Linked DNA regions of Homo sapiens: regions 1, 2 and 3 are each linked to region 4. Evidence: promoter capture Hi-C in human tissues and cell types (Jung and others, 2019). All regions are on one chromosome and are shown on one strand. Each heading gives the region's core, a stretch centred on a gene start or on the middle of the fragment in contact. The rest is flanking DNA. Distances are from core to core; before and after follow the strand shown. Region 1 overlaps LOC105372505 (a long non-coding RNA gene). Region 2 overlaps PDYN-AS1 (PDYN antisense RNA 1). Region 3 has its middle 10 kb from the start of STK35. Region 4 holds the start of TGM6 (transglutaminase 6).

Region 1 (2,700 bases), core at 93-2,592, 260 kb before region 4:
CCTGGTGATTTTGCCATTGAAAATTATACTTCAGTTTTTATTCCCTAGGAATCAAAAGGGATAAAGTTCCTATCTTATTTTTGTTTTTGAGACAGGGTCCCTCACTTTGTCACCCAGGCTGTAGTGCAGTGGTGTGGTCTCGGCTCACTGCAACCTCTGACTCCTGGGCTCAAGCGATCCTTTCCATCTCAGCCTTCCGAGTAGTTGGAACTACAGGCATGCACTGGCTAATTTTTGTATTTTTTGTAGAAATGGGGTATCACCATTTTGCCCAGGCTGGTCTCGAACTCCTGGGCTCAAGCAATCCACTTGCCTCAGCCTCCAAAATGCTAGGATTACAGGCATGAGCCACCATGCCTGGCCTCTATCCTTAGTTTTAAAGTCATCTCTTGGGAACAGCTTATAGGATTTTAAAATCTCCATCAGATAGTCTTTGCCTTCTATCTAGAAGTTTAGTCCGTTTGCATTTATTTTGATTCCTGATATATTTTGGTTTATTTCTTTCGTCTTATGTGCTTTATATTTTATTTGTTGTGCTATTTTTGTTTATTTGCCTTTTTTCTTCCTGTTTTGGAGGCACTATCAACCTAATGCCACTTTTTTTTTTCTTTTCTGAGATGGGGTTTTGCTCTTGTTGCCCAGACTGGAGTGCAATGGTACAATCTCGGCTCACCACAACCTCCGCCTCCCGGGTTCAAGCGATTCTCCTGCCTCAGCCTCTCGAGTGGCTGGGATTACAGGCATGAGCCAACATGCCCAGCTGATTTTTGAATTTTTGGTAGAGACGGGGTTTCACCATGTTGGACAGGATGGTCTCGGCCTCTTGACCTTGTGATCCACCCGTCTTGGCCTTCCAAAGTGCTGGGATTACAGGTGTGAGCCATCACGCCTGGCCTGAAAGTCTTGAAAAAAATAAATTAAAATTTTCATTTGAGTTTTTTGGAACATACAGATACAGTTGACCCTTGAACAACATGGGTTTGAACTTCACAGATCCACTTATATGTGATTTTCTTCCATCTCTGCCACCCCTAAGACAGCAAGACCGACCCCTTTTCTTCCTCCTCCTCCTCCTCCTCAGCCTACTCAGCATGAAGATGACAAGGATGAAGACTTACGATGATCCACTTTTGCTTGATGAATATTAAATATATTTTCTCCTCTTCATGATCTTCTTAATAACATTTTTTCCTAGCTAGCTTATTCTATTGCAAGAATACAGTATTAATACATGTAACATATAAAATTTGTGTTAACTGACTTTATGTTATCAGTAAAACTTCCATTCAACAGCAGACTACCATTAGTTAACTTCTGGGGAAGTCAAAAGCTATACATGGGTTTTTGACTGCAGGGGGGTCAGCACTCCTAGACCCAGTGTTGTTCAAGGGTCAACTGTAGCATATGAATTTAGAGCCTCTCTGTGAGAGCTGCCTTGTGGCTAGAACTTCTCAATGGAGACTTTTTCTCCTCTACTTTCTGCCAAGGTCAAGAGAAATACATGTCTCTTTCTGCATGGCGGGTTTATTTTTTATTGTCCATTATTGAGCATGAGGAACTTGGTGCTCCAGCTTTGGGTGGGTCTCTACCCACCCACTTCAGAGCACGTCTGAAGTGACTTTACTGAGCTGAGCGTTACCACCATAGTGAGTGCTATTGGTAACCTGCCCAGATCACCTTACTGGCTGGTGCATCAGCCCCTCCCCTTAGTTTCTGCGAGTGTGCAAATCAGTGGGAGACCAGGTATCCCCTTTGATCTTCTTCATCTAAAGTGTCTTCCTACTTATGTGATTCTGTGTACTATGGAGCTCTTAGGAAATAGAAATGGAAGTTGAAGTTATTAGAAGTGAAAGGATCAGCCTACAAAAATAGCTTCCAACAGATAAAATCCAGCATCTGCTCCATTTCTCTCCAGTTAGGAATGCGCAGCCAAACTAGGGTAATATCAGCAGGACACCAGTTATATTTCTCTGGATAAATGGTTAATTTTCTTCTTTCTTTTTTTTCTTTTCTTTTCAGACGGAGTCTTGCTCTGTCACCCAAGCTGGAGTACAGTGGTACAATCTCGGCTCACTGCAACCTCCGCCTCCTGGGTTCAAGCGATTCTCCTGCCTCAGCCTCCCAAGTAGCTGGGATTACAGAAGCGCACCACCACACCTGGTTAATTTTTGTATTTTTAGTAGAGACGAGGTTTCACCATGTTGGCCAGGCTGGTCTCAAACTTCTGACCTCAAGTGATCCACCCACCTCGGCCTCCCAAAGTGCTGGGATTACAGGCATGAGCCACCACGCCTGGCCAGAGTTGTCTTGATAGAGGTCTTGTAATTATTTGAATTAGAAAATTTTCTGTTAAAATATGTCCACAAATTCTTTGGTAACCCTCCCTTCAAGAAGTGAAGCCTAAATCCCTTCCCTTCCAGTGTGAGCTAGACTTAGTGACTCAGTTCTATGAGTAAAAGTGGTGGAACTGATAGTGTGACTTCTGAGACTAGGTCATAATAGGCATTGTGGCTTCCTCCTTGCTCTCCCTCTCAGATCACTTGCTCTGGGGGAAACCAGCAGCCATGTTGTGAGGACACCCAAGCAGCTCTATGGAGAGGCCTACATGGAGAGTAACCAAGGTCCCCTATCAATAGCCAGCAAGGAACAGAAGCCTCCTGCCAACAGTCACGTGTGAGCCATGTTGAGAGCAGATCTTTC
Region 2 (2,700 bases), core at 81-2,580, 420 kb after region 4:
AATGGCCCTTGGTGTCATTTGCTTAATGTTGTGAGAGTCTCAAGTATAATCTCGTAAGGCAAAGTGGTATAATATCAGTCGGAAGTAGAAGGTAGAGACTGTGATGAATTAATGTGCTTGGGGTTCACTGGGTTTCTTCAGTCTGTGAATTTTGTTTACATCAAATTTGGCAAATTTTCAACCATTATTTCTCCTTCAAGCTCTCTCATATATATATATATATATATTTGATCTATATATACACACACATATATACACATATGTATATATTTATCTGCTTATAAATATGTCTATCTGCTTATACACATACCTATGTGTGAGGGTGTGTGTGTTGTGTGTTGTGTGTATATGTATATTATACTGGAAGTTGTCCCACATTTTGCTGATACTCTGTTCATTTTTTTTTTTCAGTCTTTTTTTTCTCTATGGTTCATTCTGGATAGTTTCTCTTGCTATATATTTAATTTCACTAATCTTTTTTATACGAGCCTTTTTGCTGTCTTCCATATCACAATTTAGTAACTCAGTCCTTCCTCTAGTTTCCTGAACCTATGAAATACAGCTATAATCATGGTTTTAATGTCTTTATTTATCAGTTCTATCATTTGTGTCATTTCCGGGTCAGTTTCCAATGATCAAATTTTCTCCTCATTAATGGATTGAATTTCCTTGCTTCTTTGCATGCCTGGCAATTTTTTTAATGGATACCAGACACTGAATTTACATCATCATGTGCTAGGTTTTTTTGTGTGTGTTTCTATAAATATGTTTGATTTTTTTTTTTCTGGGACACAGTCAAGTTCCTTGGAATTAGTTTAATCTTTGCTTTTAAACATTTTTAGATGGAACCATATCCATGTTTAGAGCAAATTTTGTCCAGCTACTAAGGAAGAAACCTTGTGAATCCTCTGCCTAAAGCCCTGTGAGATTTTTCACTCTGGCTCCTAAGAACAGAGACTATTCCCAGCCCTGTGGGGGAACCTGGGGTTGTTCCCTCTAATCTAATCAGGTGGTTCTTTGCTCCTCAGGTAGGTTTCATACATGCACATGCTCATTAGTACTCAGAAGACAGGAGGGGCTCTCTGCTGATCGCCAGAGGTCACCTGTGCTCTTGAACCTGCTCCTCCCCACAAGCTCTCTTCTCAGTGATACTCTGCCCTGTGAACTCCAGACACCTTGGCCTCTGGATTAATGCGTTTGCATTGCTACAACAAAAATACCCAAGTCTGGGTAATTTATAAAGAACAGAAATTTATTTCTCATGGTTCTAGAGGCTGGGAAGTTCAAGATCAAGATGCCAGTGTTGGATGTCTAGTGAGAGCTGTTCTCTGCTTCCAAGATGACGCCTTCAATGCTGTGTCCTCCAGAGGGGAGAAATGCCATGTCCTTATATGGCAGAGGGCAGAAGGGCAAAAGGATAGACTACCTTCATGAAGCCCTTTTATAACAACATTAATCCATTCATGAGGGCAGAGTCCTCATGACTAAACACCTTCCAAAAGGCCCCATCTCCCAACACTATTGCATTAGGGGTTAGGTTTCAACATAAATTTAATTTTTTTTTTTTTTTGGAGATAGGGTTTTGCTCTGTTAACCAGGCTGGAGTGCAGCGGTATAACCATGCCTCATTGCAGCCTTAGTCTCCTAGACTCAAGTGTTCCTCCCACCTCAGCCTCCTGAGTAGCTGGGACTACAGGTGTGCATCACCATGCCTGGCTATTTAAAAAAATTTTATTTTGTAGAGATGGGGTCTCACTATGTTGTACAGGCTTATTTTGAACGCCTGGCCTCAAGCAATCCTCCTGCCTTGGCCTCCCAAAGTGTTGGGATTAAGGGCGTGAGCCACTGTATCCAGCCTCAACATAATTTTTTACAGGGGACAAAAACATTCTAACCATAGCAGCCACCCAGCTCCATCTCTTCAACTCAGGAAGACCCCCGGGCCCTACCTGGACTCCCTGTCCTGTGCCGTGGCCTGAAAACTCTCTCCAGATAGTAAGCAGAGGCAATTGCTAGGCTCTCTTTTGTTTTCTCTCTCTCAGGGATCACGGTTCTGTGTTGCCTGATGTCCAATGTCTTGAAAACTGTTGATTCATATGTTTTCCCCAGATTTTTTTGTTTCAGCTAAGAGGATAAACCCATTCTCTGTTATTCCACCTTGACCAGAAGGAGAAGTCAGTGAATGAACCCAGATCTCTTCTAGAGGAACAAATATATTTCCAGGGGTTTAAGTTGGGCAACCAGGATCTATTGGTCTAAGCCATCCTAATTCCTCTACTAAATTTTTTTTTCAAAAATACTGGATGCACCAAACAAGACCTTCTATATGCCATATTTGGCCCTTGGGCTGCAATTGTGAGAATCCTGGAAACAGGAAACTTTACTTGTTTCCAGGTATTTTTTACCTGTCATTTTAACTAGTTTAAGCCTAAAAATAGTCTTTGCATATTACTGTCCAAAGCTAGGAGTTGAAAGAAACAGGATTTGAACCCAGGTCCTCTCTGACTTCAAAGATACCATCATTTCCTTCATTAGATTCCTACCCCATTGTTTTCATTTGCACTGTTATATTTCACATTATTTTGTGTGTATTCTCCCACCCCACCACCCTGCACTTTGAGACTTCCTTGTCTTTGCATCCTCTAAGTTTAGCAGAGGGCCTGACCTGTAAGAGATGTTGAGAGAATTTTTGTGGAACAA
Region 3 (2,758 bases), core at 219-2,718, 290 kb after region 4:
AAGAAATGTCTGACATTTCTTCCTCTCCCATTTGGGAATGGCATACAAATTTTTGTCAGGCTATGTATCTGAATATTTGCTGCAGGAAATTGGTTGCTAAGTTCTTAGGAGTTGTTTATGATTTTTGGAAAGATAAAGGGCTATAATGCCAAATGAGCAGGGCAAAGTCCTTAATTCTGTAACTACTGGGACATTCAAAATAAATTATTGGGGCGTCTGGTTAAAATGTACACAACCATAAGGCAACAAAGTACACTCACTAATCAAAATGTAAAGTGATACAGTCTTTTAGAAAGGCAAATTGATAACTCATTGTTTATTAATATAATTAAAAATTAATACACTTTGATCAGCTATTCCGTTTCTAGGAATTTATCCTATAGAAGTACTCACATGGTGTGGAAAAATATATGTGCAACAAGGATTTTATTGTGGTGAGATATATATATATATATATATAAAATAATAATAAAATATTAGAAACAATACCAAAAGTAGAGGCTTGGTTACACAGGGTCATCATATATTTAAATACATGCCCATCAAAAGAAGGAGTTAGCTCTGTATGTACTACCATACAATACATGTACACAATATTTTGTTACATAAAAAAGCAAATGCAAACAAGCATCTATAATATGACCACATTTTGTTTAAACATGTATACATAATTGCTAACCTTCATTGAGTTACTTCTGTGTATTCTGATGGTTCTAAGTGCTCATATGTAATAATTAATTAATTAATCCAATAAGCCTTAGGGTAGGTTTTATTTTTAGCTCTATTTTCCATAGAAACTGAGGCACAAAGAGGTTATTACTTTTTCAAGGCTATACCACTAAAAAGCGATGGAACTTGGATTCCAACCCTGGTGTATCTGATTCCAAAGCTCTTGATCTTGAACTAGCACATGATACAGCGTTTGTACTTACATGTTAATTTCTGTATACATAATGGAAACATTTGTATAAATAATACTCTAGATGCCAAGAATTCTCCCTAGGTGATTCTTTCACTTTCAGGATAATTTTGTATGATTTGAAGTTTTTATGTGCATATTTGGGTATTAATTTGAGTTCTTTTTTGTAGGTATTTAAAAAAATAAAATTCAGTTTAAAAAACAAGTAACGTACAATAGTGTAGAATGTACTTCATCACTCATTTGGTCAATGAGTACTTATTAAGCCCCTACTGTTTGCCAGACTGGGGACTGAGATGAATTGAACTCAGTTCCTATTGTAGAGGAACTCATTGTTTAGAGAAGACACGAAGAAACATCCAGTCTTGAGTCTTTTCCAGCTCTATCGCACTGTGATGCTGTTTTAGAGTTTGGTTGGTCAGTGAGAAATGAGGCTGAGCCAGTTATCAACACTCACGGTGTGCCTCTTTCAACTAATGGGAACCAGGGTCTGTGTTGGGCTCTGGACTTTATATACTACCTTTCTTTCTTTATAGAAATTATTGTAGGTTCAGCAAACATTTACTATATGTTAGCCCCCGTGTTTGAGTTGGGGATCCTGGGATGAATAAGACAGGGTCCCTGGTGGTAAAATCTCATCATATGGTGAAGAAAACTGATGTGTTTACAAACAGTTAAGTTCTCCCTTGCTGAAAATAATAACTAACATTTAAGAAGCATTTACCAGACACTGTTATAAACACTTCTCAATATAATAATTTATTGAATTCTCAATCCTGTTATTATCTCTACTTGACAGATGAGGAAACAGAGACACAGACAAGTTATGCAGCTTGCTTAAGATCATACAGCTAGGAAATTAGCCGGGCACGGTGGCTCATGCCTGTAATCCCAGCGCTTTGGGAGGCTGAGGCAGGTGGATGACCTGAGGTCAGGAGTTCGAGACCAGCCTGGCCAACATGGTGAAACCCCATCTCTACTAAAAATACAAAAATTAGCCAGCCATTGTGGTGCATGCCTGTAATCCCAGCTACCTGGGAGGCTGAGGCAGGAGAATGGCTTGAACCCAGGAGGTGGAGGTTGCAGTGAGCTGAGATCGTACCACTGCACTCCAGCCAGCCTGGGCGACAGAGCAAGACTCCGTCTCAAAAAAAAAAAAAAAAAAAAAAATTCCCACAACTTGGAAATAGTTCAGGGGAGTCCCACCTGGAGAAGTGCTTAGAGGAGCATAGCCAAAGAGTCCACCCTGTGGTAGAAAAGTCATAATAAAAATAGTATTAACCACCATAACAGTACTTGTCACAAATCATACAAAGCTTTGTGGGATTTAAAGTGCTTTCACCTATTAGACATGTCTCAACATAGGGTGGCCCAAAATGTAAGGTGTCCCTCTCACTTGTCACACTAAGAAGATTGCAGAAGAGAAAATATTTGGGGTCTCAACTTGAATATATAAATTCTTAAGGTGGTATAAATAATCAAATATCTGTGTAATATTTAATTTATTATTTTAGGTACATACACACTTTCAACATTGAGAAATATTGGATTTTCTCCCATTCTTCCATTTCACAAAACAATTCTTTTCATCTCTTTCTGAGCACCTTTGATCTCAGTCACTGGGGATGATTTCTATGTCGCTCAGCCTTCTTTCTAGGTCACATAATTTTCACTCCTATCCAAATTGTGATCCAGTACTTTTTGAGCCTCTATATGATGCTTTCTCTGAAATATTTTATCTTAGAATTCCCAGTGCACTAAATCTTAGGACAGATTGTTTTTCCATTTCTCCCATTGGTTTATATTTGTGATCACAACATCCAAACATTTTATGTATTG
Region 4 (2,754 bases), core at 33-2,532:
GACTATGATGAGGAAATTCAAATATCTGCCTTTGAAAGTTAAAAAAATATTTGATTCATAAAACTGTCACATAATGCTGAACAATTAAAACTGGCAGACACAGACTCAGAAACACCCCTTGAATACCTGTGAGTGTAGGACCCCTGGTTCTGCTGACTTGCTCATTACCGGGCCCCAGCATCTAAGACAAGTTCTTGCAGAGGGAGTTTGCTGCTCACTATATTGAGGTCGTGGGGGACACATTATCTTACTTTCTTTTTTTTTTGAGACAGGGTCTCACTCTGTTGCCCAGCCTGCAGTGCAGTGGCACCATCTTGGCTCACTGTAGCCTCTACCTCCTAAGCTCAAGCGATCCTCTCACCTCAGCCTCCCAAGTAGCTGGGACTTTGGGTGTTCCCCACCATGCCTAGCTAATTGTTGTATTTTTTTGTAGAGACGGGGTTTTGCCACATTGCCCAGGCTGGTCTCAAACTCCTGAGCTCAAGAATTCCACCCCCTTCAGCCTCCCAAAATGCTGGGATTAGAGGCGTGAGCCACTGTGCCCGACCCACATTTTCTGAGTCTACTGTTTACAAGTCCCCACTTGAGATGTGTGGTGGGAGAACAGCACACGTGGTCTCACCAACTCCTCACAGCAAGGCTGTGAGATAATTTGCATTATAATCCCCATTACACAGATCAGAAAACAGAGGTACCAAGGGCAAATTTTCTTGCTCAAGGTCATATAGCTGTTTTCACTTGAGCCAGAGCTGCTCTTGCCCTCAAGTGCTTGGGGTGGGAATCAGGCGAGGATGCAGCCGGTGGGGGCCTCTCACTCCTTCCCACGCAGGCCACAATTCCCAACTATGCCCAGAAACGTCTCTGGATCCATGGAATGTGCATGGGGTGCAAGGAGATTTTCTTTTTTCTGCCCCTGCCTTCCTGTGCCTGCCTCCTTCAGTCCTCCGAGGCACAGGGGTGAGACCTGGCCCCAGCCCAGGAGACAGCGCCTGAGCCAGCCTGGGCCATGGCCTTGCTGGGTGGCTTAAAGCTGGCTTTTTCATCCTGGGCCTCATGAATCCACACGAAGAGTTCATGTGTTCATGGTGGACTATCCAGCTGTAAAATCCTAACAATCGATGATCAAACGTCATCCCACAGACCCGTGTTTCTTGAAGCCCCCCTCATGAGCCCTGGTGTCCCAAGGCCCCAGGCTCTGCCCACTTACCTGCCATGTGAAGGCCAGCTGGACTCCTCTGTTCCTCCACACAGCAGTGTGTGCACCGTCAGGACAGTGTGGCGCGTCACAGCAGCCAGCCAGACCAATTTTAACAAGGAAAACCTTGGGACACTCCTAGGCAGGAAAGTCAGAATTCAAAAGAGGAGGCGTGGCCCTCCACCCTAGCAGCGACACCCACGAGACACAAAATCATCCTGTAATTGCACCTAGAGGGGTTCACTGTGGGAGTGGCTCCTGCCAAGAGACCTTGGAAACACGGAGTTGCGAATGGGACTGTGGAGAAACTGAGGCTCAGAAAGGTCACAAGCCTGGCAAGAAAAAGAACGGGGAAAGAGAGAAGACTGAGGGAACTCGGATTTATGGTTGGCCATTCTTAGCCCTCACAACAACCCTCAAATGAGAAAAAACAGGCTCAGCGCCAGGACCCCGAAGTACATGGTTGCACGCTGCAGTGCCGGGTCAGTCTGTGGCTCCCTCTCCCCTCCTGGGTGAGAGCAGAAGACTCCTGGGCCCACAGCTCCACTCTGTTCTGCAGGCATCTAAAGAGGCAGAGGTCCATGATCCTCCTTCAGGGCCACTAGACTTCCTTGGTGGACACTAGACTCTTGAGAGGAGGTAGATAAGAAAAAGGGGAGAGCTGGTTCTGACTCAGAAGCTAGGCCCATCTGCCCTGACTTTGTGAGTGGCCTCCAGCCAGGAGCTTAGAGGCCTGGTGGCCATGGGTGTCCCGTGACCTTGGACAAGACCTCTCCCCTCCTGGAACCCTGGTGTTTCTACCTACAAACTAAAGGGATTGGACTCAATTATTCTTCAGGGCCATTCCAGCTCAAAGTCTAAGATTCTGGGCTTGAAGGTGCTGGAATTCAAGGCATCTGAGGTCTTTTGTTAATGAAATAGAGGGGATTTTATTTTCATGGAAGCCGGTGGGGTAGGTTTCTTTTTGCCGGAGAAATGCTTTGATGGATGACTTGGGGCTATCGAAGGCTGGATGTGGCCTGGGCCAGTGAGGAAGGGGAAGTGGGAGGGGGTAGAATCGAGGGAAAGAGACAAGGAAGGGTAAGGAGACAACCGTGTGCTGAGCACAGTAGGATGAGGCCGCTCCCTGGGATCACCCCAACATTCAGGAAACTGCATAAAAACCCCAAAGTGTTTGATGTGGTTGGATTTCTTACAGAAAGTGGCAAAGAGGCTGAGTTCTGCTTCCTGGTTTCACGCAGATCAAGCGTCTTTAATGAGCTGTCTGCAGACCCACATAGCCTTATAATTACTGACATCTGGCAGCAGCCCAGGGCAGCTCCTTCCTCAACACCCTGCAGGCTGCTGCCCTGTAGACCCTGGGCCCTGCTGAAGCTGCTTTTCTGCCTATGCAGGGTCAGGCTCCTCCCCACTAATGATGGTCTTATTCAGGGCCCTTTTATCTTTCATCCTGGGCTTGCTTGGACGGGAGCTCCCAGAAGACAGGGCATCAAAATCACTGCCTGCCCCACTGCTCGAGACCCCAAATAATAATTCATACTCCTCGTTTTTTTTTTTTG

Evidence for each region. Contacts are between HindIII fragments. The study calls those that stand out against the background at their distance.
Region 1: a fragment that was not itself captured here is called in contact with the fragment with the promoter of TGM6 in region 4 in 1 of the 25 tissues and cell types used here (mesendoderm cells).
Region 2: a contact is called between a fragment that was not itself captured here and the fragment with the promoter of TGM6 in region 4, in 3 of the 25 tissues and cell types used here (IMR-90 fibroblasts, dorsolateral prefrontal cortex and lymphoblastoid cells).
Region 3: a contact is called between a fragment that was not itself captured here and the fragment with the promoter of TGM6 in region 4, in 1 of the 25 tissues and cell types used here (hippocampus).

The regions. Positions count from the first base shown.
Region 1 is chr20:2,643,701-2,646,400 of GRCh38, reverse strand. LOC105372505 (a long non-coding RNA gene) reads left to right here. Exons shown (of 5, transcript XR_007067502.1): 2 at 2,020-2,673. Among named protein-coding and RNA genes, the nearest start is that of NOP56, 7.6 kb to the left of the region's middle. The HindIII fragment of the contact is 9,020 bases long and covers 1-2,700 here.
Region 2 is chr20:1,957,307-1,960,006 of GRCh38, reverse strand. All of the region lies in intron 2 of PDYN-AS1 (PDYN antisense RNA 1), which reads right to left. Among named protein-coding and RNA genes, the nearest start is that of PDYN-AS1, 11 kb to the right of the region's middle. The HindIII fragment of the contact is 7,949 bases long and covers 1-2,700 here.
Region 3 is chr20:2,090,349-2,093,106 of GRCh38, reverse strand. No RefSeq gene overlaps it. Among named protein-coding and RNA genes, the nearest start is that of STK35, 10 kb to the left of the region's middle. The HindIII fragment of the contact is 4,435 bases long and covers 1-2,758 here.
Region 4 is chr20:2,379,429-2,382,182 of GRCh38, reverse strand. TGM6 (transglutaminase 6) reads right to left here and starts at 1,282. Exons shown (of 13, transcript NM_198994.3): 1 at 1,208-1,282. The coding sequence starts at 1,214. The HindIII fragment of the contact is 30,296 bases long and covers 1-2,754 here.